Regions from separate parts of the Homo sapiens genome. Here all the other regions are linked to region 1. Evidence: promoter capture Hi-C in 16 types of primary human blood cells and fetal thymus (Javierre and others, 2016). All regions are on one chromosome and are shown on one strand. Each heading gives the region's core, a stretch centred on a gene start or on the middle of the fragment in contact. The rest is flanking DNA. Distances are from core to core; before and after follow the strand shown. Region 1 holds the start of VWA3B (von Willebrand factor A domain containing 3B). Region 2 overlaps TMEM131 (transmembrane protein 131). Region 3 overlaps TMEM131 (transmembrane protein 131). Region 4 overlaps TMEM131 (transmembrane protein 131). Region 5 overlaps VWA3B (von Willebrand factor A domain containing 3B). Region 6 overlaps TMEM131 (transmembrane protein 131). Region 7 overlaps VWA3B (von Willebrand factor A domain containing 3B).

The links. The method cuts DNA at HindIII sites, captures the fragments that hold promoters and counts their contacts. A CHiCAGO score of 5 or more calls a contact.
Region 2: a contact is called between a fragment that was not itself captured here and the fragment with the promoter of VWA3B in region 1, in 3 of 17 cell types (naive B cells, total B cells and megakaryocytes). The highest score is 8.3, in naive B cells.
Region 3: a contact is called between a fragment that was not itself captured here and the fragment with the promoter of VWA3B in region 1, in 4 of 17 cell types (total B cells, naive B cells, megakaryocytes and 1 more). The highest score is 9.4, in total B cells.
Region 4: a fragment that was not itself captured here is called in contact with the fragment with the promoter of VWA3B in region 1 in 3 of 17 cell types (total B cells, naive B cells and monocytes); the score reaches 8.1 in total B cells.
Region 5: a contact is called between a fragment that was not itself captured here and the fragment with the promoter of VWA3B in region 1, in 1 of 17 cell types (M2 macrophages). The highest score is 5.7, in M2 macrophages.
Region 6: a contact is called between a fragment that was not itself captured here and the fragment with the promoter of VWA3B in region 1, in 3 of 17 cell types (naive B cells, total B cells and monocytes). The highest score is 10.8, in naive B cells.
Region 7: a contact is called between a fragment that was not itself captured here and the fragment with the promoter of VWA3B in region 1, in 1 of 17 cell types (M2 macrophages). The highest score is 7.6, in M2 macrophages.

The regions. Positions count from the first base shown.
Region 1 is chr2:98,085,576-98,089,340 of GRCh38, forward strand. It overlaps VWA3B (von Willebrand factor A domain containing 3B), which reads left to right and starts at 1,592. Exons shown (of 28, transcript NM_144992.5): 1 at 1,592-1,788. RefSeq lists enhancers at 1,320-1,820, 1,717-1,786, 1,821-2,321. The HindIII fragment of the contact is 2,164 bases long and covers 395-2,558 here.
Region 2 is chr2:97,852,597-97,856,361 of GRCh38, forward strand. All of the region lies in intron 5 of TMEM131 (transmembrane protein 131), which reads right to left. Among named protein-coding and RNA genes, the nearest start is that of ZAP70, 140 kb to the left of the region's middle. The HindIII fragment of the contact is 3,280 bases long and covers 195-3,474 here.
Region 3 is chr2:97,869,189-97,872,953 of GRCh38, forward strand. All of the region lies in intron 4 of TMEM131 (transmembrane protein 131), which reads right to left. Among named protein-coding and RNA genes, the nearest start is that of TMEM131, 120 kb to the right of the region's middle. The HindIII fragment of the contact is 4,310 bases long and covers 1-3,765 here.
Region 4 is chr2:97,886,670-97,890,434 of GRCh38, forward strand. It overlaps TMEM131 (transmembrane protein 131), which reads right to left. Exons shown (of 41, transcript NM_015348.2): 4 at 1,383-1,451. Among named protein-coding and RNA genes, the nearest start is that of TMEM131, 110 kb to the right of the region's middle. RefSeq lists enhancers at 73-574, 575-1,074. The HindIII fragment of the contact is 1,125 bases long and covers 1,176-2,300 here.
Region 5 is chr2:98,276,690-98,280,454 of GRCh38, forward strand. The region is part of intron 22 of VWA3B (von Willebrand factor A domain containing 3B); the gene reads left to right. Among named protein-coding and RNA genes, the nearest start is that of CNGA3, 68 kb to the right of the region's middle. RefSeq lists an enhancer at 3,512-3,765. The HindIII fragment of the contact is 3,674 bases long and covers 1-3,441 here.
Region 6 is chr2:97,914,673-97,918,437 of GRCh38, forward strand. The region is part of intron 2 of TMEM131 (transmembrane protein 131); the gene reads right to left. Among named protein-coding and RNA genes, the nearest start is that of TMEM131, 79 kb to the right of the region's middle. The HindIII fragment of the contact is 1,215 bases long and covers 1,073-2,287 here.
Region 7 is chr2:98,256,048-98,259,812 of GRCh38, forward strand. It overlaps VWA3B (von Willebrand factor A domain containing 3B), which reads left to right. Exons shown (of 28, transcript NM_144992.5): 21 at 77-127. Among named protein-coding and RNA genes, the nearest start is that of CNGA3, 89 kb to the right of the region's middle. The HindIII fragment of the contact is 8,873 bases long and covers 1-3,765 here.

The DNA.
Region 1 (3,765 bases), core at 342-2,841:
CCATACCAACTATTTAATGCTTCAAAATAACCTTAAACTTCTACTCACTTATCATTCTACAATTTAAGTAAGTAATGTTTCACATTTTCAACAGAATGTATGCTTATAGACACATAAACACGAAAGATAGGGACAGATCATCTTGGTGACTTGCACGTATGTGGCAAGTGTCCTAGGGAAAGGAGCAGGCATGGGGTGAAGGTGGGAACAAGAGTGCCTGGCGTGACCATGTGAGGCAGGGCATTTGGCTATGTGTTGCTGTGTGCTCTGTCTCACCCCCGTGACCCAAGAATATTAGTGTGGCAGGGTGTGGACAGCAAGGATTAATGGGTCATTGGCAAACATGGGCGAGGCTGGTGTTTTACTCCCTTCTGAACAGTCTTCAGTACTATCAAGCTTTTGCTTGTTTTTTGGTGGTGTGGATGGCAGGTTTCATTTGCAGGGCCAAATATATATAAACTAATAACTGCCAGGAATGATTTGTGATATGGAATGAAATCTTTCAGTACTTTTTAAATGATAGAGGCATTAAAAGAATGCAGGAGAAATAAATTCCTGTGGATGAAGCAGACTTTTTTTGGGGGGACAGAATTACTCAGTTCTAACATTAACTATGTTTTATTAGTTCTTTGAAAAACCTGCAAATGATCTGGTCAGTTCTATAATTTTAAAATCTAAAATCGTTTACTATCCCAATACCCTAAAAACAATACTTACTGTGGGGTCTTTTATTAAGACTTTAAAGATACTTTTCATAAGCACAATTTTATTTCCTGGTGACTGGAAAAATAGGAAAATATTTAGAGCCTTTTGCTTAATTGATAAGGTAACACTGAAACAAAGGTTAAAAACAAAGCTGAATGGAGAAAATAATGCCTATAGAAATATTCATGTCAAACAGGTAAGAATATTCTTGGCAACTGCAGCCCCTGCCTCCACAATTGCAAAATTGCAGCTCCCTGTCCCTTCTGTCTGTCTCAGCTCCGCCCACGTCCAGTGGCTGAGCTACAACGAACTGCCCCACCTCTTTTAAAGCGTCTTTCTCTGAACTGTGCAAGGAAGAGAGCATCGCCTGACAGTGGTGAGGTGAAAATTAAAACTACACAGGGGTCAATGCTCTGCTGAAAAGTATGAAAAGAAGTTCGTTTGTAGCGTTTCCCGCAGTCTCCTCGCCTCTCCTCGGCCTCTGGCGCCTTCCTCCCCTGTCTGCTCGCACCCTATATTTCTACCCCAGCTCATCAGTGTATTTGTTTGTTAATTCATTCATTCTTTCATTCATATTCTCCGCTGTTGTTAATTTTCCCATTGACAGTAGGCGCAAGGGGCAACGCCACTCGCCCTGTCCCTCTAGCGTGGCCTCTGTTTGGGGGTCTGGGGTGGAGGTCGTCCCGGCCCGGGTGGTTCCGGACGCCGGCTTTCCGCACCTGGCTCGGTGACGGCCTCGGCGCCCCGCCCTCTTGGCCACGGTCCGCAGCCATCGCCCCAGTGAGGGCGCGGTCTGTGGGCGGGGCCGGCTCCAGGAGCCGCGCTGTGATTGGCCGTGTCCAGGCAACCGCGGAGACGCCGTCGTCAACAGACCGCGCTCGGAACCAGAGGCGCGGGTCACAGAGACCTAGAACAGCTGGAATCCTTCGCCCCCGGCGCGCAGCCTTCGCCCGCCGGAATCGCTGCCTTATCCACCAGCGGGATGCTTACCTCGCCCGCCCTCTCGGGTCAGGCGGGCCCGGGAGGATGGGAGGGTGGCTGCTGAGCGGGAGCCGCCACGTCTTCCACCCGACATATTGCCTAGTAAGTGTGGGAGCGATGCCTGCCGCACGAGAGCCGCCGAGGTGCCGAGCCTTCCAACAAGCGGCCTAGGGAGGTCTTGGAAAAATGCCATTTCTGAGGTGGACTACACGCCCACTTTACAGATGCGGAAACAGTACCAGGAAAGCTCGGTGACTTGCCCTGGCCCACTTAATCGTCCGCTACCCAGGGCAAGCCGAGGGTCAAGGTACCGACCCCTCCTACTCTAGAGCTCTTTCCATCACACCTCACCCGAGCCCACGCCCAGCCGCTCTGGTGGAAAAGCGGTTTTCCTAGTTTCTGTCTATGCCATAGGCCAGCAGTTCAAGGTGATGAAGTCCACCTGGGCTTTGGAGGGAACATGGGAACCAGAAGAAACACATTTCCTGAACATAAGGATAAATATGTATAGTCTAAAAGCCAAAGCAACACTTACATGGTTTCACAATCATATCAGTTTCTTTCACCCTCCTTATATGGAAATAAGACTTAATAAGTAGATTTAGTTTCCATTTGGTAGAGCTTTTCCTTTCATTTTCTTGGAAGCTCTGTTTCTTCTCAGCAATGACCTTCCTCCTAAAGCACTCCAATTATTCTCAGATATTGCCTTCTTGACTATTTTCTCAACGGTGGGACAGTCCGTTTCAATATCCTTGTCTCTGTCCACATTATTTGAGCCAATGATCACAGCCAAGCCTTGTCCCTTAAGGGCAGAAAAAATGGGAGGAGGTTTAAGGGTTTCTGGGGAAGAGTTGCATCAGGATCCATCATGAAGCTTCGTCCCAGTTTCCTTTCTTCCTGGAAAAATCATCGTTCACAAATTCACCTAAATCACAAGATATATATCCACCTAGCCCAGACTTCTTTTTCAGAAACTAACAGGGGTATAGGAAGTTTGGGGTGTTGATAATAAAGTAGCTAGAAGCTTATTGAATGTCTAAACTGGATTAATGGACTCTCAACCCTGCACTGTCCCTGAACCTCCGAGCACATAGGACCTTTTCTCTGAGGGCATGCTGACTTCACAAGACTGTCGCCCAGGGCAGCCCAGGAGCATCTGCTTCCAGTAGACGGGGCCCTTGTACAGTTGCCAGCTTAACCTTTCTATTTTCCCCAAAGCTTTGCCTGCCCACATTTTCAGCTCAGACTTTCACTTCCTTGTTTTTCCTTTTACACTTCCTCCTTCTTCTAAGGAAATACTTTCCTATCCAAACTCTATGTATGGTTCTTGGGATGGCCTCTAAAACTTAGGGCAATGCTCAACTCCGGTATGTTGTTGTTTCCGACTTCTGGGTTACTTGGTTCCCCAATTTATAATAACCTCAGCTGAGGAAACTCTGAATAATAGTAAATAAATAAATAAATAGCATAGTTTTATCAGAAAATAATATATCCCCCTTTATTTTTTTTTGAGACAGGGTCTCGCTCTGTCCCCCAGGCTGGAGTGCAGTGGTGCAATCTTGGCTTACTGCAACCTCTGCCCCCTGGGTTCAAGCAATTCTCCTGCCTCAGCCTCCCTAGTAGCTGGGATTACACGTGTGTGTTACCATGCCCGGCTAATTTTTGTATTTTTAGTAGAGACGAGGTTTCACCATGTTGGCCAGGCTGGTCTCAAGCTCCTGACCTCAGGTGATCCGCCCGCCTTGGCCTCCCAAAGTGCCAAGAGAGCACTTTGGCACTTTAAGGGGGCATTACAGGAGTGAGCCACCGTGCCCGGCCAATATATCCCTTTTTTAAAAGAGCTGTTTCCTGATATTAGCCTTATTAACACTGTGGATATTTGCCTTCTTTGAACAAAATCAGGATTCTCTTAGTAGCTCTGAGTGATCAGTTTTATTCATCTCAACTCTCACACCAAGTGCCTGCTGCGTATGAGGCCCTGTGCTGAGAATCTTCCTGTAGTTTGTCTCCGTAGTCATTGAACTGTCTTTAAGTCTAGTGAGGACAAGCCTGAAGTGCCTAAGACCTTAGTGATAAAGT
Region 2 (3,765 bases), core at 585-3,084, 230 kb before region 1:
AGAAGCCAGCTCCATCACATAAAAGTGCAAGGTGAAGCATTAAATGCTGATGTACAAGTTGCAGCAAGTTATCCAGAAGATCTAGCTAAGATCATTGATGAACGTGGCCACACTAAACAACAAATTTTCCATGTAGATCAAGCAGCCTTCTGTTGGAAGATACCATCTAAAGAGAAGTCAGTGCCTGGCTTCAAAGCTTCAAAGGACAGGCTGACTCTCTCTTATTAGGGACTAACACAGCTGGTGGCTTTAAGTTGAAGCCAGTGCTCATCTGCCATTCTGAAAATTCTAGAGACCTTAAGAACTGTGCTAAATCTATTCTACCTGTGCTCTATAAATGGACAAGGCCTAGATAACAGCACATCTATTTATAACATGGTTTACTGAATATTTAAAATCCACTGTTGAGACCTAATGCTCAGAAAAAAGATTTCTTTCCAAATATTACTGCTCAGTGACAAGGCAACTGGTCACCCAGGAGCTCTGATGAAAATGTACAAGAAGATGCACGTTGTTTTCATGACTGCTAACACAACATCCATTCTTCAGCCAAGGATCAAGGAGTAATTTCAAGTTGCAAGTCTTCTTATTGAAGAAATACACTGCTTAAGGCTATAGCTGCCACAAAGGGTGATTCCTCTGATGGATCTGGGCAAAGTCCATTGAAAACCTCCTGGAAATGAGTCACCATTCTAAATGCCATTAAGAACATTTGCAGCTGGGCACAGTGGCTCAAGTCTGTAATCCCAGCACTTTGGGAGGCTGAGGCGGGTGGATCACCTGAAGTCAGGAGTTCGAGACCAGCCTCGCCAACATGGTGAAATCCCATCTCTACTAAAAAAAAAAAAAAAAAAAAAAATGTAGCTGGCAGTGGTGGGACGGGCCTATAATCCCAGCTATTCAGAAGGCTGAGGCAGGAGAATTGCTTGAACCTGGGAGGCGGAGGTTGCAGTGAGCCAAGATTGTGCCAGTGCACTCCAGCCTGGGCGACAGAGTGAGACCCCGTCTTGGAAAAAAAAAAAAAAAAAAGAACATTTGTGATTCATGGGAGAAGGTTAAAATGTCAACAATAGGAGGCTGGAAGAAGTTAATCCCAACCCTTATGGATGACTTTGAAGGAAGGGTTCAAGACTTCAGTGGAGAAGTCACTGTAGATGTGGTAGAAACAGCAAGAGAAAAGAATTAGAAGTGGCATCTGCAGATGTGAATGAATTTGTGCAATCCCATGATAAAACTTGAACGGAAGAGGAGTTGTTTCTTAGGGATGAGCAAAAAAAGTGGTTTCGTGAGATGAAATCTACTCCTAGTGAAGATGCTGTGAATATGCTGACAATGACAGCAAAGAACTTAGAATACTACATAAACTTAGAGGCAGGGTTTGAAAGGATTGACTCCAATTTTGAAAGAATTTCTGCTGTGGGTAAAGTGCTATTAAACAGCATTGCACGCTACAGAGAAATCTTTTGTGAAAAGAAGAATCAATGAATGTGGCAAACTTTACTGCTGTCTTATTTTAAGCAACTGTCACGGCCATCCCAACCTTCAGCAACCACTACCCTGATCAGTCAGTGGCTGTCAACATTGAGGGAAGGCCCTCCACCAGCAAAAAGATGACGACTTGCAGAAGGCTGACATGATCATCAGCAGTTTTTAGCAATAAAGTATTTTTGAAATTAAGGTATGTACATTTTTTAGACACAATGCTACTGCACTTAATAGGCCACAGTATAGTATAAACATAACTTTTATATATATGGGGAAACAAAAAAATTCTGTGACTGGCTTACTGCAGTGGTCTGGAACGGAACCCATAATATCTCCAAGGTATCCCTGTATCCCAAGTCCAACTCCTTTCTTCACCTCTTCCACGTACCACTCTGGTCAGAGTAATCATCTAATCATCTTCTTACCCTGGAGTATGACAACAGCCAATGTGACTGGTGTCCCTTGTCCTATTTTTGATGAACAATGATCCTATTAAAACCTAAAGCTACAATTTCATTCCTCTGTTCAAAACCCTTTGATGGCTTTCCACATCATTCAGGAAAAAGAGTCAAGTCAAACCATAGTTTGTAAGACCCTTCATAGTCTGCCCCCTTACTTCTCCTCTCACCCATGCTCACTCTGGTCTGGCTGTCTTTGCACAACAGGCCTGCTTTCAACAATGGAGACTTTATACTGCTTGGTCCTTCCGGCTAGAATGCTCTTCTTCCATATATTTCACTTTCCTCCAAACAGTCCTACCTCACGCCCTTCGAGTCTTTGTTCAAATGTCACCTTCTGAATAAAGCCTACCCTGACCACCCTATTTAAAATGGTACCGCCTTCCCTGTGCACACCTAAGTCTCTGATCTTATACTTTTCTTCTGACCTTGTAACATCTTCTAAGATCTTATAAAATTTACTTATTTATCATGCTTGCCTTCCCTCTGCTGCTGACTTCACCCAAACTCCCCAGAGTATGTATGATAAGCATCTCTGTTTTCACTGGTAAAAACAAAAGTGCCTGGCACTTTAAGTAGACACTTCATAAATATTTGTTAAATTAATTCCTTCTTTCCACATAGGTGGGGTGGCAAAACTATTTTTAATTTACATTTTCTTGTATGTTTTAAACTGCAAAAGTAACAAGTGCTTATTTTACTTAGTGATACAGTGCAAAGATGACTGAATAAAAAGCTAATACACTCAAACTTCCTCCATTCTCACCATTATTAGGTTATCCAGTCAACCTGGCAAATCTGTGCTTTATTCCGGCTCTTATTAATATACCCAAATAAATATACACAGATTTTTTGCTTTTAATAAAAATGGCATTATAGGCAAGGCACGGTGGCTCACGCCTGTCATCCCGGCACTTTGGGAGGCTGAGGCAGGCAGATTGCTTGAGGCTAGGAGTTTGAGACCAGCCTGGCCAACATGGCAAAACTCCATCTCTACCAAAAAATACAAAAATTAGCTGGGTGTGGTAGCAGGTGCTTGTAGTCCCAGCTACTGGGGAAGCTGAGGCACAAGAATTGCTTGAACCAGGAGGCAGAGGTTGCAGTGAGCTGAGATCATGCCACTGCACTCCAGCCTGGGTGACAGAGAGAGACCCTGTCTCAAAAAAAAAAAAAAAGGCATTATATTCTACTCTACAATATGCTTTTCTTACATATTAGCATGTCATGTATATTATTCCAGATCAATAGACAGAGACCTATTTCATTCTCTTTATTATCTGCATAAAATTCCATACTATTGCTACATCGCATTTTGTTAAATTCCCAAAAACATGCATGGAATCAATAGAATAATGTCCTTCTATATCTAATTAAAATAATCATTAATATTTATTAACACCCTTCAACCCATGAGAAGAGATTGATCATTAAGTATACTGAAATAAGTGAACTATAACATTTTAATTTTAGTCACAGACTGAAACAAAGTTTGTCCTAATCTTCAGTTTGTCTGAAAATTTAATTAATCAAAAGCTTCTAGTCAATAAAGAAAACATTTTTGTTTCCTACTGTGTGTAAGGCACCCCATTTCCACAATTGGACTTGTATAGAATATTATTATAAAATTCTGTATTTTCTGATGCAAAACATATATTGCATATTTTATGGCCTATATATAATATGGCCATGAAAGATGAATGGCCTAAATGCAGTCTATTACATAATTTTGAATTATAATTAGATAATTATATTCAATTAACAGATAATTATAGATAATTACAAAAACTTATATACAGAGAAATAAATTGTCATACAACCATAC
Region 3 (3,765 bases), core at 726-3,225, 220 kb before region 1:
TTTTTCCTTGTGTAACTTTAGTACAATCAATCTCAGCTAAGATAAAGAAGACAGGATACATAATGGACAGGTAATTTGGGGTATCCTTCAAGAAGACAGGATTGGAGGTGGCCTCCTGCAGGAGAGGGCTGTGGGGAAAAGAGACAAGTGTGGAAGTGCTAGGAGCCTGGAAGCAGGAGTGGATCAGAATGCTTGATCTGCAATGCTTCTGAGGCTGGCCCTGCCCTTTCTTCCAGGGATCAAAGAGGAAAGGCATGGGCCACATCCCATAGAAATGAATGAACCCTTGCTCAGAGGAGATGAGTCATCTACTTATGTTGTTCAAAGTAGCTTGGAGTAACAAGAACAGAGGGAAGCTGTCAGGAAGGACATCAGCAGGCTATTTTAGTCGTTGCGTGCTCAAACAGGGCAGGCTGCCTCTAGCTCTGGGCAGTCCACACCACAGGAAGCAAAGGGAGCGGGCACTCCTTGGACAGACTTGCTCACAGACCTCATAGGTCTGTGAACAGCTTGCCTTCCTCCTCACCATCCTCCGTTCCTTTGGTGACATGAGCAGAATCTAGACCATGGAAAGTACATGACCATTTGTAAACTCACAATGTGTTGCTTTTCTATACTATGTAACAAATTACCACAAACTTTGAGGCTTAAAGCAATGCCCGTTCATTATCTTACAATTCTGTAAGAATGCCTGGTTTATCTGCTCGAGGTCTCACAAGGAAATGCAGGTGTCAGCAAGATGTGTCCTCATCTGAAGCTCAAAGTTCTTTTAAGTTCATTCTGGTTGTTGATAAAATTCGGGTTGCTTTCAGTCTTTTGCCATATGACCCTACCATTTTCAAAAGCAGCACGAAGAAACTCTCTTGCATCCAATATCTCCCTTACCTCAAATACCTGACATTTCTGTTTCTGATTGCTAAAGCCAGATTTTAAAGGTTCGTGGATTAGGTCAGGCTCACCCAAAAAAAATCTATCTCAAAGGTCAATTGATTTGGGGCCTTAGTTACAGTTTCAAAATCCTCTATAGCAACACCTAGATTGGTGTTTGATTGAATAATTGGGAGAATGTATGTACAGGTACATTAGAGGCCAGAAATTTTTAGAATTCTGGTCTATCTTAGAATTCTGCCTATCATAAGCAGGATATATGACTACTTGGCTGAACAGGTAAAATTTAAAAATAAAACAAAGATTTCCAAATGCCTGCCAGTGCTGGTCCTGTTTGTTTCCATTACTGGCTGTCCAAAGACAGAAGTAGGGCCAAAAGGGACAGTGTGAGGTATTTATAAACCAAGCTGAAGCAGGCATACAGCTGTTCTCTGTGCTGCTGCAGCAGAACTACGAACTGTCCATATTTTCGAATAGTCTGAGGCTCAAAAGAATTAGAAAGCAGCAGCTATGAATTAGAGACTAGCTTGGAAAGTAAACTGCAATTTTGTGGTCAAGGGCAAGTTTCCTACACCACAGAAAGATGACACTGCAGTGCCAGGAAACAGCTGAAGAAATGGCTTAGCAACTGCCCTGAGGCAGACCTTATGAATGACAGTGACACAGCACTCTGTTAAGCATAGTTTTGGGCAGGAAGTCGGGTCAAATCAATATGCAGTACTTTGTACCACTCAATTACCGCAAAATACTACTATCCTCCTTTCAAAAACATTTTAGATTGAAGGCTGAGCTGGGGAGTTGATGTAAAATCTTTTATGGAAAGATTGGGTAGGTAGGAATTGAAAAGCTAAGAGGCACCAAGTATCCCTTTAGGGGGCCTATTTGATTTTCTTGGAATACCAAAAAGTCATCAGAGAAAAATGCCTTTCATAAACTAAATTTATCTTGACAATAAAGACATCTATTTTTAGCAATAGTCTATTCAACGTCCATTTTTTTTATAGCCATGAAGTACCTACTTTAACCTTCAGATCTGAAATCAAGATTTTCTGAATGTAATAATTATATAAGCCAAAGATTTTAGTAAACCAAGTTTCTACCCAAAGCATCTTTTACAGCCTGCAATGAATGTCTGGAGTGAAACTGCCTTTGCAAAATTAGAACAGTAAGAGAAATCTGACATAGTTGACGCCATCTTGCTTCTGACCTCCAAGCTGTCCTTTGTCATTTCTGGGAACAGGCAAAGCTAACTTTGGGAGGAATTTAGTTTATAGTTTAACATTAAAGCAAGGATGATAATAACCTTTCCCAAAACGAAACTGCTTCTGAAAACTAATGAAAAGCCATGAGGTTAGGGTTATCAGAGGGGCCTGAGATAACCGGACATTGTCTGGGAGATCATAAGGTTTCTAAATTTCCCAATCACTCCTGTAGGAAGCATTACTACTACAGAACCTAAGGTTGGTCTTTTGAGAGATCCTTTCAGATGTTTGCATTTCTGACAACTGGCTGACTCAACCGGTCCTGTGGCCCCCACCCAAAGGCTGACTCAGAGCAGGAGGACCATATTCCACATCCCTATGATTCCATCCTCAACCAATCAACATTCCTCATTCCCTAGCCCCCTGCCCACAAAACTATCCTTGTAAAACCCTAATCTCCAAGCCTTCAGGGAGACTGATTTGAGTAATAACTCTATCTCCTGTGTGGCTGGCCTCATGTTAGTAAAACTCTTTATTGCAATACCATGGTCTCAGTGAACTGGTTTTGTCTGTATAGCAGGCAGGAAGAATCCATCAGGTAATTATAGGAGTTGCTATGGAAACAGAAAAACATTTAACAGCACTGGCATAAAAATGGGGTCGGGGGGGGAGTGGAGAATGGGAGGGGAGCCAGTGGTGTCTAGATTGCCCCATGGGATTGTTACAAGGAGAGAAGAGGAGAGAAAGGGGGAAAAGAAAAGAGGGGGAGGGAAAGGGAGGAAGGGCAGAGAGAATACAGGTAGGCTTAAAGAATAAATTTAAACAAAAAGTCTGAAAACAAAGAAAGCTAATTTGATCTGTTTATTGTGAAACAAATTCTACAGGAGAGTAGGAATGATCAGGGTAATGACAGGAGTCAGCACTGGGGTCAAGAAAGAAGCAAGGGAAATTCTAGATGCACCCTTCCTGAAGGGCCTGATACTTTTTAGAAGATGCCATGAGTTAGAAAGACTCTAACTCCATTTTTGATATTCAACTGTTGATAGTTTTCAAGCCCCAATGATGCCCCTTTACCTTTAGCCCCAAACCTGGGCAAGCCAATCAAAAAGCCCTTCTCTCTCGGAGCTAGTGAGAAGTTCCAATCATGCAAACCCACTCCAGCCTTGCTCCCCAACCGCAATAAAAACCAATTGCTGGCAAGATGGCCGAACAGGAACAGCTCCAGTCTGCGGCTCCCAGCGAGATGGATGCAGAAGGCGGGTGACTTCTACATTTCCAACTGGGACTGGTTAGACAGTGGGTACAGCCCACGGAGGGCGAGCCGAAGCAGGGTGGGGCATCACCTCATCTGTGAAGCACAAGGGGTCAGGGAATTTTCTCTTCTACCCAAAGGAAGCTGTCAGGGACTGAACCTGAGGAACTCTGGCACAGATACTGCGCTTGTCCCATGGTCTCTGCAAGCTGCAAACCAGGAGATTCCCTCCGGTGCCTACCCCACCAGGGCCCTGGGTTTCAAGCACAAAACTGGGCGGCCGTTTGGGCAGTCACCGAACTAACTTCATGAGTTCTTTTTTTTCCATACCCCATTGGCACCTGGAACACCAGCAAGACAGAACCATTCACTCCCCTGGAAAGGGGTGCTGAAGCCAGGGACCCAAGTGGCCTGGCTCAGTGG
Region 4 (3,765 bases), core at 488-2,987, 200 kb before region 1:
GGTCAGGCAGCTTGGAATCTGGCCAACTTAGGGTCTGGCTCTAAAACGCAGGGCTGTTACTCTGGACAGCAGCACAAGCACGTGTTTAGTTGGATGGTGTGGGTGTATGCCTGCCAGGAGTAGCCCAAAGGGCTGTTTCTCAGGCCTAGCTATCTGTGAAACTGCTTTGTGACGTGTGGATTTATGTCACAGAGTTAAAACTTTCTTTTGACTCAGCAAGATGAAAAAACTCTTTTTGGAGAATCTGAGAAGGGACATATAGGAGCCCGCTGAGGCTGCTCAGCTGAACTGGGAGTTATGTTTGCCAGGGATGGCCCGCAGGGCTGTTTTTCAGGCGTGGGATGCAGTCTCATGGCTTCTCAGATGGCTTGGGTGTCTGTTGGCTTGGGGTGACCCATGGGGCTGTTTCTCAGGGTGGGGGTGCAGACACATGGGTGTTTAGTTGGCCTTGAAGTGTGTCTGCCCTATGGGGCTGTTTCTCAGGTCCAAGACACAGTTGCAAGTCTGCTCAGCTGGCCCGAGGATGTGTCTGCCAGGGGCAGCCTATACAGCTGCTTCTCAGGTCCATGATGTGAGCACAAAGCTGCTTGGCTAGCCTGGGGACATGTTTGCTAGTGGCGACCCACAGGGCTATTTCTTAGGCCTGACACAGGCACAGAGATGCTCAGCTGGTCTGGAGGTGTGTCTGCCGGTGGTTGCCCACAGGGCTGTTTTTCAGGCCCTGATTTCAGGTGCAGGGCCATTGGGCAGGCCAAGGAAATATCTTGGGGGTGCACTGTGGGGCTCTTTCTTAGGTGCTGAGTGCAGGTATGTAGCTGCTTTGCTGGCCCTTGGGTATATTAGCTGCTTAGAGGCCCGGGGGTCTCTCCTGCTTGGGGGAGGGTGTGCAGTGGTTTGCTTAGCTCATCAAGGCAGAGTTCTGTGAATGAACCATGTCTGTCTGTGCGTTTGCTTTTACCTGCCATTATGGGTTGGTGATAATACTATTTGGTGATATATAAGAGCTTGTCTATTAAAAGCACATATATTAAACAAATAGAATATATTTTATTCATAAGAAGATTTTTAAATAGTAAAAATAAAAATGAAGTGCTAATCAAAACAGCTAACTATAAGTTCTTTGCTGTTTCCAAAGAGTCTCTGAACCAGAGACTACAACAAGCGAGTATTTTTCAAGCTTTAAAAGTTAATATTACATGTTAGACTCCTAATAGATACTTACTTCCCATTTTCAAACTGCATTCAGTATCATTTGTTTTCCTGATGACTAGAACATGTAACTTTCCCACATAGATGTAACACAGGCAAAAGACAAGACAAATGCATGTAAAATACATTTAATAGTTTAATGGGAAAGTACAGTCCAAAAATTTTAAACTTACTGTTCATGGAAATCCAGCATTGGTGGCTCAAATCGTATGGGCCTGCAATTCCCCCGGTAGAGAGATATACTGTAAATAAAAAGAAAACAACATAAGAAGCAATTCTTCAAAATATATGTTTCCCCAAACTCTATTCAGACAGCTGACTTTTGTCATAACAATGCCATTTTAAGAAAAATTGGGTCTAACAATCTATCAGAAATGTGCGTCACTTTTTAAATTAGCAGAAACCAATAAAGATTGCGTTTTAGAAAATGAAAAAGTGGGATTATTTTTCTTCTTCAAAGGTATATGCAAATAGAAAATGCTCAGGCAGACTGAATGTTGAAATTTATTTGGTTGGTATAATTGGTAACGATATACTTTAATAGGTCGCTTGGATTTTCTGATACATGTATGATGAATAAAGAGTTAATACAACTTACATACATTTAGCAGACAATATATGAAGACAAAAATCACAATCAGATTGTAACTAGAGTGGCAAAGGACTAAACAAAAATGAATTTGGGATACAAACTTCCAAGAATTGAAATATCTATTTCATCTGAGAGTTTGGAATACACTAGAACTGATCTCTGATGTCCTGGCCTCCATATTACAGTAGCATCTTCTAACTAACCCACCTGATACCAGAACTTCTCAATAGAACAGATTTCTGAATAGCAAACCTCAGACAACATCAGGGCCTAACGCTGATATAAAACATAAATGACTTTTGGTGGGGTAGGGGGAGTAGTGGTGGTGGTTCACATGCCTAAAGTGTCAGAAATTCAGTCAGAAAGTCAGAAATTCAGTCAGGCACTAAGTTTCAAAATAGTAGATTTTGATGTTTTTGTTCTAGGAAATGATGTCAGAGCAAAACCCATTTTGTGAGACTACTTTATTTCCATCATCACTGAAATTCATAGTAACGTAAGCTTTGAAATGATATAGTAATTTCATTCAGGATTAAGGAGTCAGAGGAAATATCCAGGATTTAGGAGATACAAGAAATAATTAGAAATAGACAAGGACATTCATAATATGGAGGAAATTTGGCTTTAATTCAATTCTATAAAGATTAAATAATCTGAGTAGTGGAATAATTTAGCTGAAGGTAATAAAATCCAAACATGTTTTTAGCCCTACCAATTTAGAACATTCTTTTGTGTAGCTTAAGAATCCCTCTGCATATGTTGAACAGAAAAGATGACAAACAAAAAAAGAAAGCAAGCACCAAAAGTAAGATTATATTTTACTAAAGCATGAAACTAAAGACACCGGGACATGAAGGCACAATTCCTTGCAACACAGTGTTGGCATCTATTCCTTCCTGCTTTCTGCCCTGTCTGTTTCTTAGATGTTATGTAACAAAAACATTCTTTGGCGCCTTTAAAACAAGAGATGCTCCTCAGCTCATTAGTTTCATTAGTATGAAACTCAAATTTACATAAATCTTAATCAAATCAAGGAAAAATAAAGTATAAGGCATAACTGTATGTCATTAATTCCTATATAATATTATATTCCTATATATAATATATATTCCTATAATGTAATATATATTCCTATATATAATATATAATTCCTATATATTAATTCCATGGACTGTTTAGATGTTGGAGAAAAAGGAAATTAAGATACAGTGTTTTTCTCTCACAGAGCCAAGAGGCTGTTCTGCAAATTACAAATGGAAATGTCTAAAGTGGCCAGGTGGGGTAAAAAAGTATATACCCCATCCATTCAATACAAATGTATGAATGTTTACTATATGCCAGTTACCGTCTATTGGCTGGGGCTACAGTGGGGAATAAAGAAAAGCACCTGCTCTCATGGCACTAACCTCCTAGTAGGGGGAACAAAAGTTGAATATGTTAGGTGAAAATGTGTGTATAAAGAAAAATCAAACACGGCGGGGCTGTGTTTAGAACCGAAAATGCCTCTCTGAGGAGGGACACTGCTGCCAAGACCTGAACGACAGAGATCTAGGGGAAGAAAGTAGTAATGTATTTGGCGAGTTGAACAAGGAGGCTGAAGTGACCACTGTGCAGTGAGGGAGGAGTAGGAGGTAGGAGCTGAGCTCAGAGGTACAAGAGCCAGGTCTCCTTGTAGGAGTATAGATTATTCAAAGTGTAACAAACTACAGTGTTTTTGAGCAAGGAGTAGCATGATCTGACACATATCATAAGGTTAATTCTGGCTACTTTGTGAAGTACCAAGGAAGTTCCTGTAGGAGCCCAACAGTGGGAAGCAGGGAAGTCCTGGAGTGCTCCAGGCAACTGGTGACGGCAGATACAATCTAGGGTGGCTGCAAGGGAGAGTAGCGAGCAGTGGCTGGTTTCTGAATATATTTGGAAGCTTGAGAAAACAGGTTGTGCTGATGGATTGATTTTGAGGGATC
Region 5 (3,765 bases), core at 355-2,854, 190 kb after region 1:
CTGTGGCCACTGCGTTTGGAGTGGGCTGCCCATGTGTGTCCAGAGGGCTGTGGCCATTGCATTTGGAATGGGCTGCCCATGTGTGTCCAGAGGGCTGTGGCCACTGCATCTGGCCTGCTCCAGGGTGCGTTATGGAGTCTGGATGACCGGGGCTTTCTGATACCCTCATCTGGAACAGGGTTGCCCTCCCCCGCCCCATAGCTGCCTTGCCGATTCCTAAGTTTGGGGCAGCTTCATGATTTTTCTGTCAGTAAGAACCAGCGGTGGGAAGGAGACACGGCAGCAAATGCTGTGTCCAGGGAGCCTGTGCCTGCTTTTTATGCTCCAGCTTCCACGGGCAGTTCCTGGCTGGCCCAGATGAGACCTAAAGTGAGAGCCGTTATTCCCACCTGCTCTGCCTGGCATCCTGCACAGGGCACATTCCATGCTTGACTGTATGATGGTTTCCACCTATGTCCATAATCCACAGGCTTCGTGGTGTCCCTGGAGATGGCCACTTGGCTCACTGACTACATAATGACAGGAGAAATCTTAAGTCTGAAATTTTAAATTCCCTTTGAAAACTCCCCTCCCTAGCACCCCTCATGTTACTGTGATTGCAGATTTCACCCTCACTAGCCAATCCAGAGCCCTCAGAGCTGAACGATAGGGGAAGTTGCCGGAGGGCATCTGTGAATTATAATTAATCCTCCCTGGGAGCCTGGTCTAGGGCAGCCCAGCTGTGCTGTCCTCCAACATTTTCTGAATAAATAAAGATTGTTCTCCAGGGCAAATCCTTTGGCCCAGAAAGATCAAAAAGGCTCTCTCACCCATAACCTTGACTGCTTTGGAAAATCTGGAGGTAGAAAATATTTTTAAGCTGAAAGCAGCTCTAAAGGAGGCCGTGGAAAGTTACCCACACCACTGGCTGCACACGTTTCCTTCTCAAAGCCGTGACTGGCAAGGAAGCTGGAGCCTATGGCCTTCAGGGGTGGGGAATTGAGTGCTCTGCTCCGGGAGAAAGAGAGCGTTAGGAAAATGCACACAGGGAGGCAGGCATGGGCGAGGCTGGATGAGGTGGAATTAGGAGAAGGAAGAGAAGAGATCATTTGCTGTTGAGAACATTCTGTTGGGTTGTGACTTTGACACTATACATGCAGGAAGATGTTAGCTGGGGAGACAGAGGAAAGTGTCTTTCAGTTATCAGTTATGTAAAATAAACTCAGAATATATACGGCTGTTATCTGTGTCCCAGATAGTAAATGAACCAATTGTCATTCTTCAATTGTAACTTTTTTTTTTTTACAGTCCATTAACGGGAGGTGTGAGGCATTACACCCTAACTGACTAGTCGGCCTTTCCAATTCCACTAGTAAAAACTTTAGTCTGTTTTGCTGATATTCAGGTCTGTTGGGAAGACTAGCTCCCTAGTGGCTGTGAACTGTTCTCCAGTGGAACAAGATCTACTGATGTTGAGACAGGAAATTTTCCCTGACCCCTTCATGGGACTTGCAAAGAGGGTGGCTTGTTTACTCAGCCCGTGGCTCTCAGCCCCTCTCGGGAGAGGGAGCACGCAGGTGAGTGGGTGCAGGGGCCAAGATGAGTACTTCTGGGTGCCGGCAGGAGCAGAACTCTGTGTGGCCCCAAGGCAGCTTCTAGAGGAGTACCCACAACCCCTGGAGCCCCAGAGGGCGTGTGTTACCGTGCTCCTTTAGTGTTGCTGTCCACAGATGGCTAAGTGTTTAACTCCTTGGTGTGACAGCCCGCTGTATCCCTAGCTCTTGTTCAGCATGCAGGAAGAATCAGGTCACACGAACAAATTGAAGATGGTAAATACAGGGAATTTTATTGCTGATGAAAGTGACTCTCAGCAGGATGGAGAGCTAGAAAGGGGATGGAGTGGGAAGGTGGTCTTCCCCTGGGGTTCAGCCATCACTGGCCACACTCTTCTCTGAGGTCCCGCCATCAAGCCATCCCCCTGAAGTCAAGCTGCTTCTCAACGACGTCAGGCTGCTGCTTCTCTTTTCTCCATCTCTGCTACTCCACTGCCAGTGGAGCCTGGAGTTTTTATGGGTACAGGATGGGGGGGTGGTGTGGGCCAGAGTGGTTTTGAAAAAGGCAACATTCGAGAAGGAAAACAGGAATGTGGGTCCAGGCTTGAGAGTGGGGCCCTCACTGGGGACTGCTGCCTTCTACCCAGTATTTCCCTGCCTCCTGTCCATATCAGTGGGCAGGAAGTTAACAAGTCTGGGGTGTGCACTGGTGATGTTACCATCACACAGAAGTGATGTGTGCACATTCAGACCATGCCGTCCTCAGACAGCACTGCAGTGATGGTTTAGCATCTGGAAGTGGGACCCCTGATGGGCCTCCAGGGCATGTGGCCAGAGTGAAGCTGAAATCCCAGAGGCAGTGAGAGGATGACAAAGAGAAAATGAAGCCCTTCATTACTGTGCCACGTTTATCTAGGGGTTAGATGGGGCTTTAAGGAGAGAATCCTGCTCAGAAACACCAGTCACTGGAGGAAACTGAAAGAAGGGGGAAAATATCCCCAAACTCTATTTTCTAAGAAGTCTTCTGTCTCATGTCCTGATGTTCAGGAATGGGAAGGTGGGTGTCAACTCTGGGGATCCCTGAGGTGACAAAAACTTAGAACCAGGCTGTCTTTTCATTCTGAAGCTAAAGGCACCCTCCTCGCTGGAGATTCGGCTGGGCAGATGCCAGCACTCTCCTGCCTCTACATTTGTCTTTGTTCCCAACCATGAATTCTACCCAAGCACCCTAAACAGATCTGGGGACAGATTTGCCCTCCCTGTCTGGAGGAAGAAAACGGAGTGTAGAGGGCTTAGCAGGGGCCACTCAGGAAGCAGAATCCAATTCATTCAGCACAAGTGAAGAAACGTTAATGAAGGAACTCTTTGCAGAAGTGAAGGTCAGTCTAAGGCAGTCCGTGGGATATTGCAGGACCCCAGGACAAGCAATAGCAGGAAGCTGTTATCATCCCCAGACTTAAAGGGGCAAGGGAAGGAAAGCGTGTTCCTGGAGCCCTAGAGAGAAAGAGCAGGGAGTGGGCAGGACACCAATACCCCGGCTTCCTCCTGCCTTCTGAGCTTGGCGCGTGCCTCAAGACAGCAAAAATTAGGGAGATAGGGTGGTGTGTTCCCTGGGGGCCAGCCTCTGGGGGTACAGAGCAGGGCAAGGAAGGGCAGAGAGCAAGGGGGATGCGTGAGTGGGGGCGGAATAGCCAGCCCAGAGGAGTGGATGTCTTGAAAAGTTTTCTTAAAGACTCAGAATTCATTTGCACACCAGTCTCGTGTGAGATGTTTGTGTAAAGTAGGTGGCTGGTAGTGGTTCATACGTCAAGGCAGTGCCACGAAAGTGGCTCCCAAGTGTGGCTTTTGTTCATCTCCGGAGTAGCGGGAAATGAATAACTGTATCAGGAACGCGAAATTACAAATCCCAAGCTTTGGTGATTTCCAGATATAAATATGTAACACACTTCAAATTTTTCTCTCTTTGTTTGTTTGTGTGTTTTTTCCTAAAAGAGCAATAAGGGAATATTTCCTGAGATGACGTTGCAGGTTTACTTTCAAGATAGGGAAATAGTTTTGGATTTTTTTGTTTTTCTGTTTGGAATATAGTATATGTTTATTAGATTCCTTTGCTGCCACAAAGAAAAGAAAGAGAGAGAGAGAAAAAAAACACACAAGTTTATTTTCAGCAAAGCTTTGAGGTAGCTATTTGTTAATGTTTGACTGGAGGTTTTGCTTTCAGGGTGATTAACTG
Region 6 (3,765 bases), core at 430-2,929, 170 kb before region 1:
TCTGGAGACTTACCCAGGTTGTTGTGTGTGCCAACACTTTATTCCTTTTTATTGCTGAGTTGTATTCCATGGTATGAACGTATCACTGTTTAACAGTACATCTACTGAAATACATCTGGGTTGTTTCCAGTTTGGGGCTATTATAAACAGAGCTGCTATGAACATTTATATACATGTTTTAATGCAAATATAAATTTTCATTTCTTTGGGAGAATCCCCAAGAGAGCAATTAGTAGGTCAATTATAGTAACCACATGTTTAGATTTATACGAAACTGCCAAACTGTTTTTTCCAGAGTAGCTGTATCACTCACATACCCTCTAGTAATGCATGCGTGATCCAGTTTCTCCACATCCTTGCCAGTATTTGGTGTTGTCACTGTTTTGTGTTTTGGGTTTTAATTTGCATTGCCTGGTGGCTAACAATGTTGAACAGGTTTTCATGTCGTTTTTACCATCTGTATTTCCCCTTCAGGGAAATGTGTGCTCATCTCTTTTCCCTGTTTCCTTTATTTTTATACTATTGAGTTTCGAGAGTTCTTTCTATATTCCAGAAACTAGGTCCATTGTCAGGTGTGTGACTTGCAAATATTTTCTCCTAGTCTATATTTATCTTTACATCTTCACATGGTCTTTTGCAGAGAAAGGTTTTGTTTGTTTGTTTTTGTGAGACCAGTCTGGCTCTGTTGCCCAGGCTGGAGTGCAGCAGTGTGATCATGGCTCACTGCAGGCTTGATGTCCCAGGCTCAAAAGATTCTCTGCTTCTGACTCCTGAGTAGCTGGGACTACAGGTGCACACCACCACACCTGGACAATTTTTTATTTATTTTATTTACTTACTTTTTATTTTACTAGAGACAAGGTCTCACTATGTTGCCTAAGCTGGTCTTAATTAAACTCCTGGGCTCAATGGCTCCTCTTCCCTTGGCCTCCCAAAGTGCTAGAATTACAGGCATGAGGTACTGCGTCTGGCCCAGAGCAAGTTTTAAATTCATCGATCTTTCCTTTATACATTGCACATCTGGTATTAATTCTTTGGTGTCAAGAACTCTTTGCCTAGCCCTGTAAGCTGAAGCTTTCCTCTTAGTTTTATTCTCCCTAAAGGTTTTATTATAGTTTTACATTAAGTCCATGATCCATTTTGAGTTAGTTTTTGTTTAAGGTGTGAGATCTTTCTATATTCAGACTTTGCATACCATTTTAGTATTCTGTGGTATTCTTTATTCCTAGTTTTTAAGGCTGTTTCTTATTTTATTTTAATAAAATAAAATTTTGCCTGTTGCCCAGGCTGGAATGCAGTGGAGTGATCTCAACTCACTGCAACCTCTGCCTCACGAGATCAAGCAATTCTCCTGCCTCAGCCTCCCAAGTAGCTGGGACTACAGGCATGTGCCAGCACGCCCAGCTAATTTTTTTTAATTTTTAGTAGAGATGGAGTTTCACCATGTTGGTCAGGCTGGTCTCAAACTCCTGACCTCAAATGATCCACCCGCCTCAGCCTCCCAAAGTACTGGGATTATAGGCGTGGGCCACGGCACCCAGCCTTAAGGCTGTTTCTGAACCCGCTATTTATTCTTCTTTTGTACCACTTATTGTACTACAATAGAGGGCAGGAAATAGTAGTAAAGGGAGAATCAAAATGAGGATGAAGTGGGGAGCAGGTATTTCTGAGAAGACTCAAAATTTAAAGTAGAAAATAAAAACCTGTGTGCAAACACCAGCTCTGCCCTCACTAGCCAAATACCCTTGGGGAAAGTCTGTAAAAGCAGCATTCTGCCAACTACAAGGAGCTGCAGAGCTGTTGGCCTCTGATGACGGCTTTCTAGTGTCCCACCCACTTCTCTCTTCAGCCACAGGTAATCAACTTGACATGACATGAAGTGGCTGTTTTGAGTACAAAATTAGTTGTAATATTGTAAAACTGATAATGTAGAGTGAGAAAATCTAGCTTTGTTTGCAGAGAGAAAAATAACTGAAAAAACAAAAAGCACTACCTTGTAGTACATTTAGGCAGTGGGATACAAGGGTAATGACCCCTGTTATTGCAGAGCGGTTAAAAACTTAGGCCTCAGAGTCAAATGCTTGGTTTTCAATTCTAGCTTTATCACTTAATAATCATTTATTTGGTTAGGTTAAACTCCCTGCACTTTAATATGCTCACCTGTAAAATGATCATAAAATGAATACCATCTCATGTATTTAAGAATTTAGAAGAGTACCTGACTTGTCAACACCCAATAAATATGACTTATATTTATTATTTTTTCACATTTTTCAAATTTTCTACAAGCTTATATTTCTTTTATAATAGAAGTCCTTTAATTTAAAACAAAAGATGAGTACTTCTAGGCCTCCTTACAAGTCAAAATCACAGCTCCTTCTCCATTTCCTTTTCTCCTGGGAGAACATTAAAGCCCATTTCCAAGACAATTTAGAAAAGAAGTTGGTAATCTATTAGCCCATGAGCCAAATCCAGTCTTCTGCCAGCTTTTGCAAATAAAGTTTTATGCCCATTTCTCACATACTGTTACGGCAGCTTTCACACTACGATGACCAAAGTTGAATAGTTGTGATAGAGACCATTCGGGACACAAACCCTGAAGTAGTTAATATCTGGTCCTTTACCGAAAAAGTTTGCCAACATCTGGCTTAGATCAACAGAAATAATGCCACAATATCTTATTTCCAGAATCATTAAGTCCCTACATAAGAAAATCTGTGACCTAAAAATCTAAGGCAATCTGGCATAGCATGTCCTCAAGAAAAATACAGACAATGTACAGTCCCACTAGTGAACTGCAGTACAATTCTGATGCTAACCATCTGCATTAGTCTGTTCTCACACTGCTAATAAAGACATACCCAAGACTGGGTAATTAATTCATAAAGAAAAGAGGTTTAACTGACTCACAGTTCTGCAGGGCTTGGGACGCCTCAGAAAACTAACAATCATGGCGGAAGGGGAAGCAAACATATTCTTCTTCACATGGCAGCAGCAAGAAGTGCTGAGCAAAGGGGGAAAAGCCCCTTATAAAACCACCAGATCTCATGAGAACTCACAATCACAAGAACAGCATGGGAGTAACCGCCGCCATGATTCAATTACCTCCCAGCAGGTTCTAGCAAGCTTCAGTATCCAGTTTCATCAGGTAGGTAAGGTATGGCTGATTCAATCACTGACCACCATGTGACCCAACTCACATTTCGGCTTCCCTAGAGGAGGGTGGGTTGGCTCAAAGCCCAACCCTCTAATCACATGATTGGTTTTTTTCTCTCTTTTTTTTTTTTTTCTTGAGACAGAATCTTGCTCTGTCACTGAGGCTGGAGTGCAGTGGCACGATCTCGGCTCACTACAACCTCCGCCTCCCGGGTTCAAGCAATTCTGTGTCAGCCTCCCGAGTAGCTGGGACTACAGGCGCATGCCACCATGCCTGGCTAATTTTTGTATTTTTAGTAGAGACGGGTTTTCACCATGTTGGTCACGCTGGTCTCGAACTCCTGACCACAGGCGATCCACCGGCCTCAGCCTCCCAAAGTGTTGGGATTACAGGTGTGATCCACTGCGCCCGGCCAACATGGTTGGTTTTTCTGATGACCAACCCCCATCTTGAGTATTCTCATTAGGTATAAACTCAGATGTGATCCAAGGGACTCATGAATAACAAAGACACTCTTATTATTAAGAAAATTCCAAGATTTAGAGCATCTTCAGGACCAGAGACAAAGACCAGATTACTGCACAACTAGCTATAAAATCTTCTTGCCA
Region 7 (3,765 bases), core at 616-3,115, 170 kb after region 1:
CGGTGCCTGGGGTTAACCTTTTGCCATGAAATGAAGTACTGCTACAAAATTATTGTTGACTTTTTTTTTTTAACAGGCGCTTGAATAAAATTGTTTGGCGAGCATTATCTCAAGAGGAAAAAGAAAAGTAAGCCATTCCATTCCCTCCTCACTTTTTTTTTTTGGTGAAATTCACGTAACCTAAAATTAACCATTTTAAAGTGTACAATGCAGAGGTATTTAAAATATTCAAAATGTTCTGCAAACCACTACCTTTTTCTAGTTTCAAAACTTTTTCATTACCCCAGAAAATCACTTTGTAACCATAAATTAATCACTCCCCATTCCTGTCTCCCCCTTTTCTGGGTTACCACCAGTTTGCTTCCTGTCTCTATGATTTTGGCTACTCTGGATATGTCATATGAAGGGAATCATACAGCATGTGACCTTTTGTGTCTGGCAGCTTTTCTTAGTTAATGTAAAAACCTCATGTTTTTAAGGTTCACCCAGGTATCAGTACTACATGTGTATATATACACCACGTTTGTCTGTCCATTCTTCCACTGACGGGCATTTGGGTTGCTTCCGCTTTTTCGCTATCATGAACTATGTTGCTATATGCATTTGTGTAGAAGTTTCTTTGTGGACATATGTTTTCATTTCTCTTGGGTATATACCTAGCAGTGGATTTGCTTGTCACATGGTAATTCTATGCTTAACTTTTTGAGGAACCACCAAACTGTTTTTCCACAGTGGCTATGCCATTTTTAGAACATATCTATTTATTTTTATTGACCCATAATAATTGTACATATTTTGGGGTACATGTGATATTTTGATACTTGCACACATGTAATGATCAAATCAGGATGTTTAGACTATCTATCACCTCAAACATTTATTATCCCTTTGTGTTGGGAACATTTCAAGTTGTCTCTTTTAGCTATTTTGAAATATACAGTAAATTATTGTTAACTATGGTCTCCCTACTGTGTTGTCAAGTGTTAGAACTTTTTCCTTCTACCTAACTGTATGTTTGTGTCCAATAGTCAAACCTCTCTTCATCTCCCCCACCTCCACACACACTCTTCCCTGCCTCTGGTAACTATGATTCTATTTTCTGCCTCCATAAGATCAACTTTTTTTTGTTTTTAGCTCCTACAGATGGGTGAGAACTATTTGTCTTTCTGTGCCGGGCTTATCTCACTTAATATCATGACCTCCAAATGATATTAAGTGCTGCAAATGATATTAAGTTGCTGCAAATGATAGGATTTTGTTCCTTTTTTTGGCTGAATAGTATTCCATTGTGTATATATACCACATTTTCTTTATCCATCCATCCGTTGATGGATACTTAGTTTGTTTGATTCCATATCTTGCTGCAATAAACATGAGGGTGCAGGTGTCCCTATGATACATATTGATTTACTATCTTTGGATAAATATCCAGTAGTGAGATTGCTGGATCATGTGGTAGGTTCTCATTGCTCCACATCCTCATGAACACTTGACATTTTCCTTTTCTTTTTTTTTTTAAGTCATTCTCATGGGTGTGAAAGGCTATTCTGCTGTGGTTTTGATACACATTTTCTTAATGACCAATGATGTTAAACATCTTTTCATGTGCTTGTTGTCCATTTGTATATCTTCTTTGGAGAAATGTTTATTCAAGTTCTTTGTCCATTTTCCAATTGGGTTGTGTTTTTGTTGTATAACTTCTGAGGATTAAGTCATTATCAGATATCTGATTTGTCAGTATTTTCTCCCATGCTATGGGTTATCTTTTCGTATTCTTCATAATGTCCTTGGAGGTCCAAAAGTTTTTAAGTTTTAGGAAGTGAATTCTTCTTTTTTTTTCTTTTGTTTGTGTTTTTGGTGTCAAATCTAAGAATCCATTGCCAAATACAAAATCATGAGCATTTATCCTTTTGTTTTCTTCTAATATGTTTACAGTTTTAGGTCTTACATTTGGACTTTTGATCCATTTTTGAGGGACTTTTTGTATCTGGTGTGAAGTAGGGTTCCAACTTCATTCTTTTTCATGTAAATATCCAGTTTATCCAGCACTATTTGTTTAAGAGACTATTCTTTCCCTTTGAATGGTCTTGGCACCCTTGTCAAAAATCATCTGACCATAAATGTTTGGGTTTATTTCTGGACTCTCTATTCTATTCCACTGGTCTATATATGACTATATTTATGCAAGTTGACACTGTTTTAATTATTGTAGATTTGTATTCAGTTTTGAAATTAGGAAATATGAGTCCTTCAACTTTGTTCTTCTATTTCAAAATTGTTTGGGCTATTCAGGGCCCCTTGAAGTTTTGTATACATTTGAGGATTGGCTTTTCTATTTCTGAAAAAAAAATTGGAATTTTTGTAGGGATTATATTTAATCTAAAGATTGCTTTGAAGAGTATTACCATTTTAACAATATTGTTTTCCAATCAATGAACATAGAATGTCTTTCCATTTATTTAGTGGATCTTTAATTCCTTCAGCAATGTTATATAGTTTTCAGTATACCTGCCTTTCACATCCTCTGTTATTTTGTTCTTTTGGGTGCTATTATAAATGGGATTGTTTTCTTAACTTCATTTTCAGATTGTTCATTGCTGGTACATAAAAACACAGCTGAATTTTGTATTTTGACTTTGTACCTTGCAACTTTGCTGAATTTATTGGTACTAGTGGCTTTGTGGGGAATCTATGGGGTTTTCTATATATAGAAACATATCATCTGCAAGTAGAAATAATTTTACTTCTTTCTTTCTAATTTGGATGCCTTTTATTTCTTTTTCTTACCTAATTGATCTAGCTAGTACTTCCAGAACAACATTGAATAGCAGTGGTGAAAGGGGACGTTCTTGTCTTGTTCCTGATCCCAGTGAGAAAGAAAGGAAGTTCCCTATATTCCTAGTTTCCTGATTGTTTTTATCATGAAAAGTGTGTGTTAAATTTTGTCAAGTGCTTTTTTCTGTATCTATTGAAATGATCATGGATTTTTCCCTTTGCTCTACTAATGTGATGTATTAAATCATGTGATTTTCTTGGGTTGAACCACTCCTGCATTTCTGGCATAAATCCTACTTAGTCATGGTGTATAATCCTTTTAATGTCCTTTTGGATTTGATTTGCTAGTGTTTTATTAAGAATATTTATGTCCATATTTATAAAGAAAATGGTCTGTAGTTTTCTTTGACATGTTTGTCTGGCCTTGGTATCAGGGTAATTCTCTTCTTGCTGACTGTTAAGAAGTATTCCCTCATCCATTTTTTGGAAGAGTTTGAGCAGTATTGTTGTTAATTATTTGTTTGGTAGAATTCACCAGTGAAGGCATCTGCTTCTTAATTTCCCTTTGTTGGGGGATTTTTTATTTCTTATGCAAAGTATTTAATTGTTATATAGGCTGTTGAGTTTATCTATTTCTTCTTGAGTCATTTTGGTAATCTGTTTCTAGGAATTTGTGCATTTCATCTAGATTATCTATTTTTGGCATAGAACTATTCATAGTATTCTCTATAATTATTTTTATTTTTGTAAGCTGAATTAGTAATGTGCCTGCTTTCACTTCTGATAGTAGTAATTATGTGTTTTTTCCTTTTAGTCAATCTAGCTGAAGATTTGTCAACTTTGTTGATATTCTCAAGGAACAAACTTTTCATTTTGTTGATTCTCTCAATTGTTTTTCTATTCTGTAATTTGTTTATAAGTGCTCTCCTCTTTATTATTTCCTTCCTCTGCTGGCTTTGGGTTTAGTTTTCCCTCCTTTTTCTAGGTCCT